2 separate regions of the Homo sapiens genome follow, and region 1 is linked to region 2. Evidence: promoter capture Hi-C in human tissues and cell types (Jung and others, 2019). All regions are on one chromosome and are shown on one strand. The core of a region is centred on a gene start or on the middle of the fragment in contact, and the rest is flanking DNA. Distances in the headings are between cores, read along the strand shown.

Evidence for each region. Contacts are between HindIII fragments. The study calls those that stand out against the background at their distance.
Region 1: a contact is called between a fragment that was not itself captured here and the fragment with the promoter of MOB3B in region 2, in 1 of the 25 tissues and cell types used here (lymphoblastoid cells).

Annotation. Positions count from the first base shown.
Region 1 is chr9:27,192,495-27,195,194 of GRCh38, reverse strand. TEK (TEK receptor tyrosine kinase) reads right to left here. Exons shown (of 23, transcript NM_000459.5): 11 at 2,572-2,700. Among named protein-coding and RNA genes, the nearest start is that of TEK, 85 kb to the right of the region's middle. The HindIII fragment of the contact is 6,550 bases long and covers 1-2,700 here.
Region 2 is chr9:27,528,381-27,531,080 of GRCh38, reverse strand. It overlaps MOB3B (MOB kinase activator 3B), which reads left to right and starts at 1,267. Exons shown (of 4, transcript NM_024761.5): 1 at 1,267-1,526. LOC124902107 (dapper homolog 3-like) reads right to left here and starts at 2,625. Exons shown (of 2, transcript XM_047424279.1): 1 at 2,355-2,625; 2 at 381-2,061. The coding sequence starts at 2,625. The coding sequence ends at 1,073. RefSeq lists silencers at 1,220-1,519, 2,490-2,539. The HindIII fragment of the contact is 5,687 bases long and covers 1-1,731 here.

The DNA.
Region 1 (2,700 bases), core at 2-2,501, 340 kb after region 2:
AGGTCTGATGGCCCTTTCTCTGTAACCTTTGCAAATGGAGAGAGGTGATGCCATCTCCTCTTGTTAACCTCTGAAGTTTAACCTCCAAAATAGCCACCCAGAGTGGTTTAGGCAGGTTTGCAATGACAAAGGAGAATGGGGAGTTGATATTTTGGAGAATACATTTACACCTCCTAATCCTGTGCCTGGTACAGAAGAGTAACTCAATAAATAGTCATTTCCCCTTTTCCCGCCCTTTGGGAACATGATTACCCCATACGCCTCCCTGTCTGCCCCTTTCTGCACTATGTTCAGAAAGTGTTCTCTTCCTTCCCCTCCCGGACTCCCTGGCCTTCACCATCTCAATCAACACACATAAACAGTGCAACTGCCAGACGAAATGAAAAGCAAACAGCAGCAAAATTCAAATGATGGGAAAAGAAGAACCTTCAATAATCCCCTTCCCGCCTACCCCTGAGAACTACTTTGAAATATTCTGAGAGACCTCCTGGCTGCAACACATTCTGAGGGCTGAAGACAGTACAGTGTGGGGCTGTGAAGTGTTTTATGTTCTGTTCCATAAATACTTTCCATCTGAGTCAGTTTATGCTCTTCCCCTCTTGACTCACCAACAGTGACTTGAGAGAGAATTAACTACCATTTGCCTTTTAGCAGTAACATGATGACATATCAGGGATCCCTTGGGTCATGGTTGTAGAGGTCCCTTTTTCCTCTCTATATAGTTTCTGGGTTTATTTTTTATATTCACAACCAGGTGGGTCCCCAAGCAGCCATTTCTTACTTGTGTGTAATGCTTCTATAAGTCTCAGAGTAGCTTTTGAGTCTCATTTGGTTCTTTAAGGATGCTGCTAGTAACATAAAAACTAGGTGGGTGGTGTGAAGGAAGGATGTTTCTGTTAAGGGTGCACAATCTCTGCAGAAGAAAAGTGGATGTTCTTCCTGGTTTTTTCACTCAATCATAACATATCCTTCTACTTTTAGTAAATGGAGTAAAACACAGGCAAATATGTGAACTGGGATAATAAGCTGGTGCCTTTGGGATTCTAGGTAGAAATAATAATTGGAGAAACAAAAGGATATGGAGCCTGGACTGGGAGTGGTGACTCATCCCTGTAATCCTAACACTTTGAGAGGCCAAGGCTGGGGGACTGCTTGAGGCAGGAGTTTAAGACCAGCCTGGGCAACAAAGCAAGACCCCGTCTCTACAAAAAAAATTTTTTGAAGTAGCCAGATGTGGTGGTGTGCCTGTAGTCCCAGCTACTCAGGAAGCTGAGGTGGGAGGATGACTTGAGCCCAGGAGATAGAGGCTGTAATGAGTGTTGATCAAACCACTGCACTCTCCAGCTTGAGTGACAGAGCAAGATCCTGGCTCTAAAAGACAAAGATATGAAGCCCGAAGATTTAGTATGGTGATGCATCTTACTGTTATTAAGTACTCTGAGTCTCTACTTTTCAATCTGTAAAATAGGGAAGATGATAATTCTTACTTTCCTAGGTGATATAAATCAAATATATATGAAGTTGAAAGTATAAAGTACTGACCAAGAGAGAGTAACAGAATGGTTATACACAGTGAACAATTCAAAGAACCAGGAATGGAACCTTACAAAAGATCACTCCAGTATTTCAATGGAGGGTACCTGGGTAACAGAAAGCTGGAGGTCAGGTTAGCATCAAGGAGGCTTCACAGAGTTAATTAACGCAATAGAAGGCCAGTCAATACCAAACACCACTGAGAAGTCCAGAAGTAATTTTACACATGTTATCTAGAACGTGTGGACCCAGGACCAGCAGCATCACTTGGGAACCTACTAGAAATGCAAATTTTTGAACCCCGGCCCCATCCTCACCTCAAAACCATTGAATCCGAAACTCTGGGGACGAGGCCCAGAAACATCTTTTAACAAACTCTCTGAGTGATTCTGATGGACACTTAGGTTTGAGAACCACTGATTTAGAAAAGGGAGGTAAATATAAGAAATAGCTTAAGGAGATGAAAGTGGCTACCTATAGGAAGCAGGACTGGGAGGTGGAGGGTGGAGCAGGAGAATGCTGTTCTTTAGATAAAAGCTTCTTATTCTATTTGATGTCATGACTCTGACCATGAATTACTTTGAAAAATTGGAAATTATTTTTGAAAATAAATAAACTGGGACTTCTAAAATATGCCTGTGGCAAGAGCCTGGTCTGGGCCCTTAAGATGGAAACAGGAAGCCAGTGATAAAATGCAGGAGCTGAAGCTCAGCACAGTTGCTGCTGTGTAAATCCCAGCTCCTAGGGGAGGCCCTGCCTTCCTGAAGGCTCATCTGCTTCCTTCTCTGTCCCTACAGAGTGCTGCAGACCTCCTCCCCCAGGGAGACAGACCAGGAGTCCAACCCAAATAAAGGAACAGTTTGGCTTGAAGTTGCTAGCCTTCCTGTCACTTTCCCACCCATTCAAAAGCGAACTCCTGCCACCTCCATCCCCACCCACCCACTCACCCACCACCACCCTTCCTGGTCTTCCTTCCTCTTTCCCCTTCCTCCCCCTCCCACCCAGCTCATGAATAAATGCCTGTTGGCTTCCACTGACCGATAGAAGCTGTTGTGAAGCGTCTCACAGGTCCAGGATGCCCTTCCCCACCCTCTCCACGACGGACCAGTTGCACACAGAGTTCATATTCTGTCCGAGGTTCCAAATAGTTGAGTGTAACAATCTCAT
Region 2 (2,700 bases), core at 18-2,517:
GTGGGGTGATAACTGTATGCTGGAAACAATGATAGGTGGTGACCCTGGAGCACTTACCATGTGACAGGTGTTATGCTAAGCATGTTGTATGCATTCCTTCATTGAATGACAGCTACCTATATTATCCTCATTTTATAAGATGAGGTAACAGAGCTTCAGAAAGGTTAGACTCAGCTGCTATGGGTCTGTCTGACTCTGGTGTTCTTCCTCTTAAAAACTGGGGCACTTTGGAAATGAGATTCCTCGGTGATGAACAGAAATATTGCTTAGCGGCTGTATTTTTGTATCTGGCAGTTTTCCCATATTTGAGTCTTATATTCACAATCGGTATCTTTACATTACACAAAAGTGACACAGAATTAGAGTCATTTAATCCAGGGTTGATATCATTAAGTCATGACTATTTATTAAATGTTTCTTACAATATCTGAGATGATATTGCAAAAGATGTAAGTGATTTTAGAAGTTCTCACTTCGTAGTTAGTTGCAGAAACCTCTTTTGGAGGAGGGATGTTTTCTCTATATATCCTAATTTCTACTTAATATATTTCCACACCTCTTTGAAGTGTGTAGTAAGAATGGTAAAATGCAGTACTTCGTCATTTGGTACAGTTCAATCAATATGCATTAAGATGTGATCATATGGGTAATAGAAAAATGTGAAAGATCCAATTCTTTTTCTCCAGAAGGCAGGAAGCTCATATTTGATTTCTGTTACTATAAACTATAAAAACGTTTCAAATGTAGTTTACCCGTAACCATCACCCTGCAAGGGTGATATTGCTCCCCGCCAATTTACGGAGGAGAATACTGAGGCTTTAAGGTTGTAGATAGACCAAGACCACACAAGTAGAGAGTGGCGGGCTGTGGGTTGAGCTTTAAAATCCAGGTTCATCCATGACTCCCAGTGTGTTCTAGTAAATCCACTAGAATCTGAGTATTTTCCAATGATTTATGCTCCGCTCTGTGTCAGGCAGTTCATGGTATTTTTCAACAATCAGAAAATCCTGGGGAAGGCAAACTGTTTCCCCCTCTCTAGGTGCCTTGGAAGTGGCCGTTGTGGACCCAGAGATCATCCTTTCTGATCTGACACCTTCTTCACTGCCCTGGCCCAGTGTCTTTTCTGCAAGGCTGGAAGCCCCCTTAGACTGGTCATGTCCCATCTCTTTCCGGAGGGAAGATGATCCCAAAGACGACTTTTCTCTCCACGGTGCTGCCATACCGCAGGCGGCCGCCAGGGGTCCCCGCTCGGCGTCCCCGCGAGACAGTCGAGCCCCGGCCGGCTGCGCGGCGCGCTGGGTGCATGAGGGGGCTGCTCCGGAGCGACGGCGGCTGCAGCTGGAGCCAGGCGCTCGCCCGTCCGCCGGTTGGCTCGCCGGGACCTCGCGCACCGGCGGCAGAGTCCCTTGCGTGGATTGGCAAGCGACGCCCCACCTGCCCCGAGCTCACCATTTTCTTTCGCGCTGGCTGCAGCTGACCCGGCGAAGGGAGCCGACCGGGCCCTGGGCTGGAGGTAAAACCCCACGGTGAGTAAGAACCCGCTCCAAGCTAGGGGAGGCGGCGCAGCCCGGTGGCTGCTCGCTCCCGATCTCGCCCGGGCGGGCGGCGAGGTTTGGGGCGCACCTGGGCGCGGGTGCAAGAAGGTGCGGGAGGCGGCGGACCGGTCTTCTGCCCGCCGGCCACGGGCTTCCGGGGCTGGAGTCCTCTTCAGACCCCTGCCGGCGCCTGGGTTTCTGGCCGGCTCCTCGTGTGCACTTCCCGGCAGGAACAAGGGTCGCCCACTTTCCACCCCGGGATCTTGATTTGTCCTTGATTTGAAAAGATATAAATCAATAAGATCGTCCTTCTTTCGGGGTGCAAGACTCCGAGCCCATCCCCAGCCGCGGACGCCTGCAGGGTGCGTGTTGGGCTGTGGGTGGCGGGAAGACAAACTTTTACAAAAGTGCGCCTGGGCTGGGGGACAACGCTTGGGCGTCCTGATCCTGAGGGAGGAGTCTCGGCTTGGGGCAGCGTAGGGGAAGTCCGCACCGTCAGCCAGGTCGCCCCCGGGGCTGACGATGCCTCACGGAGGTGGGGAGCGTGTAAAGGCCGTACAAATCGCGCTTAACTTTGGGGCCAACAACTGTCAAACATCTGGAATCCCAGCCCCTCCCTTTCCCTGAACTGGGGAAGAAGGTGAAAACCCTTCAAGTTTTCTTTGATTGCCCCTTCCCACCTTCAGACCCCTGCTGGGAGGGTAAAGCGCCGACCCCTGGTGCCTGGCAAGTACCAGAGACTCTAAATCTCTCGGGATCCCCCCCCTCGCGCTCTTTCCTGACCCTCTCCCCTAACCCTCCCCACAGAGATCTCTCTACGCAGCCGACTGAGATCGTGGCGAATGGCCTTTTGTTTCTCCGCGTTTCCCCTATTGTTTGCCTTTCCAACATCTGGCGGGGCTTGGGGAGAGAAGGAAGCCCCTCTGGTCCCCCTCCCCGGCCCCCACGCCAGCTCCGGCAGGGGATCCCAGCTGGGAAAGTGGAGGAGCCCGACCCCAGCGAGGCCGCCCCACCCCGCCCTTGTGGTTAGAGGGCGGAGGGAAAGTTGTTCCTTCCCCGCCTCCGCTGCTGCCTGTGGCCCAGGGCGCATTTCTCAGATCTCAGCCCAGGCGCGCCGCAAAGGCTCAAATCCGAGAAGGTGCTGCTTTCGAGACAGTGGAAGCGC